4 separate regions of the Homo sapiens genome follow, and all the other regions are linked to region 1. Evidence: promoter capture Hi-C in 16 types of primary human blood cells and fetal thymus (Javierre and others, 2016). All regions are on one chromosome and are shown on one strand. The core of a region is centred on a gene start or on the middle of the fragment in contact, and the rest is flanking DNA. Distances in the headings are between cores, read along the strand shown.

Evidence for each region. Contacts are between HindIII fragments. The CHiCAGO score rates a contact against its expected background, and 5 or more counts as called.
Region 2: a contact is called between a fragment that was not itself captured here and the fragment with the promoter of CFAP54 in region 1, in 7 of 17 cell types (total CD8 T cells, naive CD8 T cells, non-activated CD4 T cells and 4 more). The highest score is 9.4, in total CD8 T cells.
Region 3: a contact is called between a fragment that was not itself captured here and the fragment with the promoter of CFAP54 in region 1, in 13 of 17 cell types (total CD8 T cells, neutrophils, naive CD8 T cells and 10 more). The highest score is 12.7, in total CD8 T cells.
Region 4: a fragment that was not itself captured here is called in contact with the fragment with the promoter of CFAP54 in region 1 in 12 of 17 cell types (total CD8 T cells, naive CD4 T cells, total CD4 T cells and 9 more); the score reaches 16.2 in total CD8 T cells.

What each region holds. Positions count from the first base shown.
Region 1 is chr12:96,488,170-96,490,869 of GRCh38, forward strand. It overlaps CFAP54 (cilia and flagella associated protein 54), which reads left to right and starts at 1,408. Exons shown (of 68, transcript NM_001306084.2): 1 at 1,408-1,757. The coding sequence starts at 1,441. RefSeq lists a silencer at 1,262-1,556 and an enhancer at 1,447-1,656. The HindIII fragment of the contact is 3,410 bases long and covers 853-2,700 here.
Region 2 is chr12:96,309,213-96,311,912 of GRCh38, forward strand. It overlaps CDK17 (cyclin dependent kinase 17), which reads right to left. Exons shown (of 17, transcript NM_002595.5): 5 at 1,840-1,965. Among named protein-coding and RNA genes, the nearest start is that of CDK17, 90 kb to the right of the region's middle. The HindIII fragment of the contact is 2,543 bases long and covers 137-2,679 here.
Region 3 is chr12:96,262,371-96,265,070 of GRCh38, forward strand. The region is part of intron 4 of ELK3 (ETS transcription factor ELK3); the gene reads left to right. Among named protein-coding and RNA genes, the nearest start is that of ELK3, 69 kb to the left of the region's middle. The HindIII fragment of the contact is 7,613 bases long and covers 1-2,700 here.
Region 4 is chr12:96,242,540-96,245,239 of GRCh38, forward strand. The region is part of intron 2 of ELK3 (ETS transcription factor ELK3); the gene reads left to right. Among named protein-coding and RNA genes, the nearest start is that of ELK3, 50 kb to the left of the region's middle. The HindIII fragment of the contact is 3,050 bases long and covers 1-2,700 here.

The DNA.
Region 1 (2,700 bases), core at 158-2,657:
TGATAGAACTGGTAACAATTTTCAGGGTTAAAGACTGATTTTTCTAAGCCACCAAATATTTCTGGTTCTTCTCTTAGATAATTTATTGTGTTGCATAATTTATAGAAAAGAAGGTTCTCCATTTTCTCAATACTCATACTTTAATAAATTTAACTCTGACTTTTGCCTATAATACACAGGCTAAGAATAAACTCCCCAAGTATTTCCCTGGAGGTCTGTAGTTTCCCCATCAGAAGTAAAGTCTCCTAAAAGCCCTGTTTAAAATGCAAAGTATTTTGAGAGTTAACACTTCAGGCCACTAGTATGTATTAATGTCCTATGGTTAAGGTTGAGCAAAATGCACATTAATTTAGAATACAGAGATAATTAAAGTAAGGCTGGAATGTGCATAAATAGATGTAATCATAATTATTAGAGGCATAGACATCATGTCCACAGTTACAGACCTCAAGGTACAAATAGAGGAAAGAGAATGGATCAGCTGCATATTCAGTACTCCCTGGCTATCTGTGGGGGACTAGTTCCATGACACCCGCAGATACCAAAATCTGTGGATGCTCAAGCCTCTGATATGAAATGCTGTAGTATTTGCATATAATTTGTGCACATCCTTCAGGATGTTTTAAATCATCTCTAGATAACTAGTAATACCTAATACAGTATAAATGCCATGTAAATAGTTGTATTTTGTGTTATTTTTATTGTTGTATTGTTATTTCTAATTTTGTTCTGAATATTTACAATCTGGAGTTGCTTGAATCCACAGATGAAGAACCCGAGATTTGGAGGGCCAACTGTATTTGATTCTTAAACTGCTTGTCAGATATTTCTCTAATTTCAATTTGATTAATAAGCTTTGTTTTGGGGAGTGATCAATACAGCCTATTCATTTTGAGCACAGGCTTTGGAGTCACAAGTTCCCTTTGGAGGACCTGGTCGCTGACACTACGGTTGTACGCTGACTTTTGTCAAATGACTTAACCTCCTTGAGCTTTGGTTTCCTAAACTGTGAGATGGATATACTAATAGTATCCTAAGTTGTAAAGTAGTTATGATGATTAAATGAGATAAATGAAAGTACATGTTTCAAATGCTTAATGCCTGACACACGTTAATGGTCATGGTCGTCATCATTATCGTTATTAAGTGGCCAACATGGATAAAGAGTATAGTCTGGATTTGTGACCTTAAATTTTTGGCTCTAATATTCGCCAGCGCTCTGCTCAGAACATTCTCTGTTCGCATTTCATACAGCGGTGCCAGCGCACAACCAGGCAACGCCCTCAGGAGCATCATTGTTTTCTGGACCTGGTTCTTTCTCGCTCTGCCCTCCAGGGGCCGCTGTGTTTCTCGGAATGCGCGCGGGATGCCCGGTTGCCACGAGACCGTCGCCAGGCAACCGCGTGTACACATACTCCAGGCGGGCCGGGGCGCGTCAATATGGCGGCGCAGGGCTCCCCCTCGAGCTCTCCGTCAGACGACTCTACCACCTCGGGGTCTCTGCCAGAACTGCCGCCGACCTCCACCGCGACTTCGAGGTCGCCCCCAGAGTCGAAGGGGAGCTCCCGGAGCTCGCTGCTTCAGTGGACCTGCCCCGAGGACTCATTGCCCCTAGCCGTGTTTTATGGGCCGCTGGACGCGAAAAACCCGCTCCTGGCCTCTTGTGAGAAGGAGATCCAGGAGTTGTTAGGCTTTATGAGGAAAAAGAAGGCTTTAGCCACCACGGAGGAAGAGAAGCACGAATTCCGCCGGCGTTGGTAAGCGCTGGCGGGGCACTGGGGAGGGCGCCGGCCAGAGGAGGGACCCCTGGAAAGGGCTGGAGGATGCAGGTGGTGGCCCCAGAGATGGTTCAGCGTTGCGGACGCAGGGGCTGGCTGAAGGGCCCAGGAGAGACAAAGTTTAAGAAGTGGAGACTCGTCGCTCTTAACAATCCTTAATTCCTGGGAGCTGTTATATCTTGGCTTCCTGCTCAGGTCAAAATAAAAATCTACACAGAAATGTTTCATAACTCACCATTTGTTATTTGACCAGAAAAGAAAGATGGTAACATAAGCAGGAAAGAACCTTAAAAAGAGTTCGCAGTTTGCAGTAATAACATGGTGATAGAACTCCCAAAAAGGCAAACAGTTGCGCAGAATGAATAGCAAAATTAAGAAAAAGTCACTGTAATCCTAATAGCAATATAAGAAGGAATTAAAGTGCACATGTTCACAGGATGACATACTTCATTGTATCAAGAGCTAGCTTCATGAACCTGAGCTACCTCGAAGTTATTCCTTTTTCTCCATATACAAATTTATATACTCATAACATGGAAAGTTGTGAAACCCTTGAGCGAGCCAAAAATTTATACATGAATACAAAATACGAAAATTAGCTGGGCATGGTGGCACATGCCTGTACTCCCAGCTACTCAGGAGGCTGAGGCAGGAGAATTGCTTGAACCCGGGAGGCAGAGGTTGCAGTGAGCTGGGATCGCGCCACTACACTCCAGCCTGGGCGACAGAGCAAGACTCCTTCTCAAAAAATAATAATAATAAATAAATAAAATAAAATATTTTTTATTTATGCATATAACAACTATTTATTGAGCACATACTGTATATCAAGTGCTGTTCAAGGAACTAGGAAAACATCAAGTTAACAAAACATATAAGAATCCATGTCCTTATAGAGCATATGTTTTTGTGGGTATAAACA
Region 2 (2,700 bases), core at 158-2,657, 180 kb before region 1:
TCTACACCCAAACCTCTGGGTTTTAGTTTTAGTACATGAAGTTTCCTCTTCTTACAACACCCTTCATTCATAGGCCGTTTTTGACTGACAAATTTCTGCCCATCCTTCTAGGACCAGCTCAAGTGCTATCTCTGTAAGCTTGTGATTTGCCAAGGCATTTTACTTGCTGCCTCTTTTGTTGTCCCAAAGCACTTTATATGTATCTCTACTACAGGACTATAGTCATCCAAAAGAGATTCTCACATAAACAATCACCTGAATTTACATTAAAGTGATACTGCAATAAGAAAAGTTATCCTTTGAATAAATGGTGCTGGGTTAATTACTAAATATTAAGAAAATATATTTGTAAGACATGTAACTGACAAAGGTCCTGTATATAAAGTATACTTAAAAATTCGTATAAACCAATAAAAAAGACAGAAAACCCAATAGAAAAAAGAAGAAAAACAGACTTGGGTAGTTAATTCACAAAAGAGAGTATCTAAATATAAACATACAATAAACATACGATGAATAATAAACACACAGAAAGGTGTTCAACTTAGTCATCAGAGAAATGCAAAATAAAACCAAGAGACCACTATCAACTTGCTAGAAAACTTAAAATAATAATTTTTAAAAGACATTATCAAAAGTTGGCAAGGAGAACAACCAGAACTATTATATGCTAGTGATATACGTATAAGTTGGTACAACCACTCTGGAAAGCTGTTGACAGTATCTAGGGAAGCAGAATATAATGCAACAATTCCACTCCTAGGTAAGCACTCAACAGAAATGCTTACATGTTAACCAAAAAACATGCACAGGAATGGTGATAGAAGCATTATTTGGTAATAGCCAAAAACCGAAAACAACCAGAATGCCCATCGATAGGAGAATGGATGAAGTACAGTACACTCATAAATGGAATACCATGCAACAATGAAAACGAATTATCTATAATTACATGCAAAAATAGGGCTGAAACTCACAAACATAACACTGAACAAAAGAAGCTAACAACAAAAATAATACATACTGTATAACTTCCATACATACTGGGATACATATTGTGCAATATATATATACAAACTTTGTATAAGTATATAATTCTGTATATCTACATAAAATATATTTTAATATAATTACATATTCATAATTACACAAAGCTCAGACGTTTTAATAAGGATAATCAGAAAGAGAATATTACACATTTAAAAAACAAATAAGAATATATGTGAATGGGATTTTAGAAGATCCAGATACCAAAACATACTATAAAAACAGTATGATCAGAACAATGTCACACATATGGGTAAAACTAATCTTTAGCATCAGAAGGCAGAGAGTATGGCTACAGTTGAGGAAGTGAGGAATACTAAGTAAAGAGAAAGGGAACAGAAGGGGGTTTCTGGGATTTCTGAAATTTTCTTTTACTGATCCAGGTACTGGTTACACAGGTATATTAACATTTCAAAGGTTCGTTGAGCTGTACAATTATGGTTTGTGTACTTCTCTGTATATCTAGTATATATTAATACATGTTTATTTATCCAGCACATATCTAGTGTATCTATATATCTAGTATGTATTTATCTACCTAGCATGTATTAATAACATTTACCAAAAATAAAATATACCTTAAATCCTATTCCAATATGCATCCTATTGAATGCATCTTAAGGACTCCAATAAACCTTTAAGAATGGAAAATAATAAAAATCGAGAAGGCAATATAATAAAATTTAGCTATTCTAAAGTCAAGTATAAAAATTAATTTAAAATGTTTACACCCAGAAGCAGCAAACAAGCAGATCTGATTGATGGTGGAGGTATAGGAGACCAAAAACTTACTAAGGAAGCTCTACGAGACCTTCGACTCATTGGTTGGTCAAATGGTGGACTGTTTATCTGCAACTTTTCAAGATATCCATCAGGTATTCTGATGTCTGCAGGCAGTGATAACCGCTTATTTAAATCCTTAAAAAAAAAAAAAGGTAATCCAAAATAGTAAAGGCAAGGCATTTGGCTTTTGTATTCACAGGCTCTAACATATTATTTCTTAGTGATAAGTAATTGTAAAGTTTTATTGCAGTTGCAAAGTTACCTACATTGATTATATGTAATATACTCATGGCAAAAACATTTACTGTAAGCAAAAGTATACAGCGAAGTGTTACAGAAATGAAATTTTGCAACCTCAGTAATTTTTGAGTCCTTTCACTGGTAAATTCAACTTGAAATTTACTTTAAATTTATTATACCATATAGTAACATTAGGCAAACACTACCACAAACTCTGTGATCAGTTTAAATAACTAACCAAGTAGACATTATATGATCTTGTATGCAACATGGGGAAAGAGAATTGTATTTATTACTGCCATGTTAATGGCATTTCTACTTTATTTAATTATACAATGTGAGCTGGGATAAACTTGAAAAGAATCTTGCCTATATCATTGTATCAAGAAATTTAAGCCCTATAAAAAGAAATTCCTCCCATTCATAACAGCAGCCAAACCATGAAACGGAATGGAGAGGTATAGGAACTGCATAAATATTTACTGAGAAATATAAGACTTAAGTATAAAAACATACAATGCCACCAAATGGTAAGAATAAGTAAGGAGAAGATACTGGTCCTCCCTATATTAATTTTATAAGTTATATAACCACTAAGAAATCACAATAAGCTTATTCTTAGAACAAAAT
Region 3 (2,700 bases), core at 72-2,571, 230 kb before region 1:
TTGAGAAGCACTGCAGACCAGAGGTTCCTAGTTTATATTTAGAATTCTGCATCAGAAATTACTGCATTTAAAGGCTACCTGCTTAGAGTTTTAATTTCACCAAGTGGACCTGTTCTCTTTCCTGAAGCCATTCAGAATACAACCCTTGAAAAAAAAGACAAGCTGGTATTCCGGATGGCTGACAGGTTGTATGGCCTTGGGCTCTCTTTTTGTGGCTGGATCCAGGAGACTAAGGAAAAACAATTTTTTGCCTTTTAAAATATTATTAGTCTTCCTGTGAAAAGAGCAACTGAGTATGGCAAAAGTTGAAAATAGCAATTTTGAGAACGGTAAACAACAAAATATGGTAGAGGAATAACTTTCTGATTTTTAAAACTAGATGTTACAATTGATACATATTCAGAATTCAGATTACTATCAGCAGTGCCTCTTATTTTTTTAAGAACTTTTTTTTTTTTTTAAATTTAGAGACGGGGTCTCATTATGTTGTCCAGGCTGGTCTTGAACTCCTGGGTTCAAGTAGTCCTCCACTTCAGCCTCTGGAGTAGCTGGGACTACAGGCATACCACCACGCTGGCCAACATCCCTTTTAAACTGATGAAAATAATTTTCTTTCAAAATAACAACAAACCTCTTTCATGTACGCTATAGATGTAATGAAGGAAGAAAAAAATAGATTTGGCTTACACATTTTAAATGATGCTGGCAAGTTTCCTATTACCATGATTGGAAAGGTTGATCAGAATCCTTGGGGTAATAGTTGAACAGCTGAAGCATTTTTGTACAGAAGGGCCCCTAATATGATTACTATAGCAGGTTATAGCAGATATGAAAGAATTCCAAGGAAGGAGAGAGAAGACGCCTTTCTGGAAGAGGTATGCTTTAAAATTGAGAAATGTTTAGGTAAGGAGAGAGGCACCGAAGACATTGTGCTAAATGTAAACAAAGAACCTTGATTTATATAAATAAAGTGAACTCGGTTTTTCTTGGACAGTTTATTATTTTCTTCTTGTCTAAGGATGTCTGTTCCATGACTTTTGAAACAGATTTTGTTCCAATGTGGAATATACCTAGTAGGAATAGGTATGTCTTGAAACAAGGTAGAGCTAATTAAGTTTTCAATTAAGAATGTGTGCTGTAATTTTTAGTTCAACAAATCTAACCCCAGCAAATATTTGCAATGCTCTGCGACAAGGACTGTAGGGACAGAGAATATGTGAATAGTGGATGAGTAAACAAACTGCTGCAGAAAGTAAGGGGCAGACGCGCTTTTTCCAGCTGGCCACTGGACAGGCTCCAAGGAAGCAGTGGCGCCTCAGCTGGGAGGAAGGGACAGGATTTCGATCGAGTACATTTAGATGAATAGAGCCGAATGACGGGGACGTGAGAGTCTGTTCAGGAAGGGACCAGGTGATAGGAGATAAGGTTGGAAACGCAGCTGTGGGCCTTGAATATAGGCTTAGGAATTTCTCTCTTTATCTGTTAAATGTTTACGCTTTTTAAGCTGGAGGTAGGAGGATGAGATCTCTGTTTTAGAGAACAATCACTGATATTAGTGTGGAGGAAGAACTGAAGAGAAAGTGGAAGGAACAGGAAGATAAGAGGAAATTTTTATTTTTATTTTTTGAGATGAGCTCGCTGTGCTGCCCAGGCTGGAGTGCGGTGGCACAATCTCGGCTCACTGCAACCTCTGCCTCCTGGGCTCAAGCGATCCTCCCACCTCAGCCTCTCAAGTAGCTGGGACTACAACTACAGGCATATGCCACCAAGCCTGGCTAAGTTTTGAAATTTTTTTGTAGAAACGAGGTCTCACTATATTGCTCAGGCTGGTTTTGAACTCCTGGGCTCGAGCAGTCCTCCTGCTTTAGCTTCCTAGGAAGGGCTAGGATTACAGGTGTCAACGACCATACCTGGCTAGAGGAAATGATACTACAAATATTGAAGGGAGAATCATCTTTGAGATTAAAACAGTGGACACAGGATATAATTAGAAGACATTTTAGAGGTGAGCTCAAGAGAGGCAGACTTTGAGCTGGGTCTGAGGGGTAAAGTAGGTATTGAAAATTAAGTAGAAGCAAAGATTACTAAGTGATTAACATACTGGAAATGCTACTAAATAACAATAGTTAAGGCCGGGCATGGTGGTTCATGCCTGTAATCCCAGCACTTTGGGAGGGTGACATGGGTGGATCACTTGAGCCCAAGAGTTCGAGACCATCAGGGGCAACATAGCAAGACCCTGTCTCTCCAAAAAAAATACAAAAATTGGCCACGTGTGCTGGCGTGTGCCTGTGGTCCCAACTACTAGGGAGGCTGAGGTGGCAGCACTGCTTGAGCCCTGGAGGTTGAGGCTGTAGTGAGCCATGAGCATGCCACTGCACTCAAACCTGGGCGACAGAGTGATCCTGTCTGAAAAAATAAAGATAAAACATAACAATAGTTAACATTTATTGATGATTGATGACTTATTGTGTGCAAGACGTTGTTCTTAGCACTTTTGGTGGCTTCTCATTTAATACTCCCAGTAATTCTATTTTAGAGATAAGAAACTAAGGCACAGGGATATTGGCTAGTTTATTCAAGATAACACACTCGTAAGTGGTGGAGCCCTGACTCAAGTTTTAAGTTTGTGGTCCCAGCCACCATTCTCACTGACTTGGAGTAAGCAATGGAAGAAGGGCGAGTTTTGTGGGAAAGAGG
Region 4 (2,700 bases), core at 42-2,541, 250 kb before region 1:
GATCTTCAAACATACATGGCGCTGCTTCTGGGGGCAGCCCTGGAAGATAAGGAAGAAGGGGCTGTCAGTGCAGCTGCAGGGACACACGTCCTCTGAGCCCAGGTTGTTCCTAATCCTCCAGCCGTGGGCACCGCTGTGGGGGGCTTTCCTTACCAGCTCCCCTCGTCTAGCAGATGTCCCCGGTGCTGAGTCACTGGGCTGCACTGCTCTGACCCACTTACTGTACCCGACCCTGCCCTCTTCCCTCCCAGTTCCACTCTTTAGCCTTCGACCCTGGCAGGTTTCCAGGTAGCCAGATCGAATCCGTCTTTCCCATTGGTCTCTAGAGAAGCATGACCTGCCTCGGTTCTTTCCAATGGCTGTCACTTCCTCCTTTTGGCCAGCTAGTAAATTGTCTCCATCCCCGTCACTGCGTAACCTTTCCCCAGAAAACTCTTGGTGTCCTCTCTGCTCCCCCAGCAGAGGCAGCAGCTACTGAAGGGCCCTTCCCAGTGTCTCCCTTTTTACATTCTGAGTAGGGTTATGACAGTTGCTTCTAGCTATAGAAAGTTCCCACTGTCTTCCACTTAAACACGTAAAATACTTAAGATTCTTATATGTTCTTTTCTTTAAAAACCAGCTTCATTAAGATAAAATTCACATACCATACAATTCACCCATTTACCATATACAGTTCAGTGGCTCTGAGTATAGAGTTCTGCACCCATCACCGTGACCCACTTTAGAACATTTTCATTACCTCCTTCCTTCCACCCCTCTCAGCCCTAGGTAACCATGCTCTACTTTCTGGTTTTTTGTATAGATATCATGATTCTGGACATTTCATATAAATGGAATCATATGTGACCTTTATCATGTAATATCTGGCTGCTTTCACTTTGCAGTGAATCATAGAATAGAATATTCTATTCTATGGCTCATGCCTATAATCCCAGCACTTTGGGAGGCTGAGGCGGGCAGATCACCTGAGGTCAGGAGTTCAAGACCAGCCTGGCCAACATGGTGAAACCCCGTCTCTATAAAAATTAGGCAGGGCGTGGTGGCTCACGCCTGTAATCCCAGCACTTTGGGAGGCCGAGGCAAGGCAGATCACGAGGTCAGGAGATCGAGACCATCCTGACTTACACGGTGAAACCCCATCTCTACTAAAAAAAATTAGCCAGGCATGGTGGCGGGCGCCTGTAGTCCCAGCTACTCAGAGGCTGAGGCAGGAGAATGGCGTGAATCAGGGAGGCGGAGCTTGCAGTGAGCCGAGATCACACCACTGCACTCTAGCCTGGGCAACAGAGCGAGACTCCATCTCAAAAAAAAAAAAAATTAGCTGGGCATGATGGTGGGTGCCTGTAATTCCAGCTGCTTGGGAGGCTGGGGCAGAAGAATCGCTTGAACCTAGGAGGCAGAGGTTGCAGTGAGCCGAGATCACGCCACTACATTCCAGCCTGGACGACAGAGCAAGACTCCATCTCAAAAAAAAAAAAAAAAAAAATCTATGATTCTGTTTAATGAAATTGAGGCCCATTATGTTATGTTTGTTCCTTACTATTCCAAACAATATTCCTTATTGTTCTTACTATAGTCTAGTAATTCATTATTCCTCAAATAATGAATTCTAGGCCTTGGTGCAGAGCTTCATTCTTTACTACAGCTGGATAATATTCCATTGTAAGGACACCCCACATTTCATTTATCCTTTTGCTGGTTGGTGGACAGGTGGGTTGTTCCTCATGTTCTTTTTAACACAGCAAGGCCATATGATCTGTCTGAGGCTGCCTTTCAGTTCCCAACCATTTTTTGAGCAGGAGAGACATTTTCTGTCATTTTTATCACAGCCCTTGGTTATTTCTTGATGTGTTCATGAATGTAATCCCAACTTAGACATGATGTTCCAAACCTATAAGAAAATTAGAATTTTTTTTTTTTTTTTTTGGGAAAGAAGAAACAGTTATTTAAGACTTGTTAGAATAAATGATTCAGATCCTTTTTCTTCTGTGTTTTTATTTTGGCTCTAAATAAAACATTTATAGAAGTTTGTCTTTTGTGTAATTATTTAGGCTCTAAAAACTTCACTCAGTTTAGATGAGTGTTCAAACTCGCTGAGGGAAAAAAATAAAGTTTTTCCCCAGGGAGAAAAATATTATGAGCTAAAACTAAAAATAACTTAAAATTTTAGCGAAGGAAGCATTAACACACCAGGCCAGCACACTTTCTTTTTAATGGGAACTGACCCTGGGTCAGGTGGGTCCAATGACACCCTTATTTAATTTATTTCCTGCTGGGAGCTGATTTTCCTGGGCATGTTCTGACCCAGGGCACTCGGCAGAGACGCTGCTAACAAAGTCCAGGTGGAAAACATCTGAGTTTCCCAAATTTCTCTAAAGGTTTTTAAGGGCTGTTCAGCTTCGAGTAGCAGCGTGAGTGTGAGGTCGCTGGCGTAAATGAGACCCCGCGGGTTAAGTTGCAGGTGGGAGCTCCAGGATGCAGCAAGGTGGCCGCGGCCACTGGAACTGTTGTTTGGCCTTGACTCTAATCTAAGGTGCCCTGGGCGTCGGCCTGTATGCTGGTGCTCAGTGAGGTTTCTCCATGACTCTGTATGAGATCTCCTGTGCTGAATGGGACCCTTAAATGTGCCCTTCGCTGCCATCATTTAAGGAGGGAAAAGGCAAATCAGAATGTCATAATGTAAAGGATGGCAGGCAAACA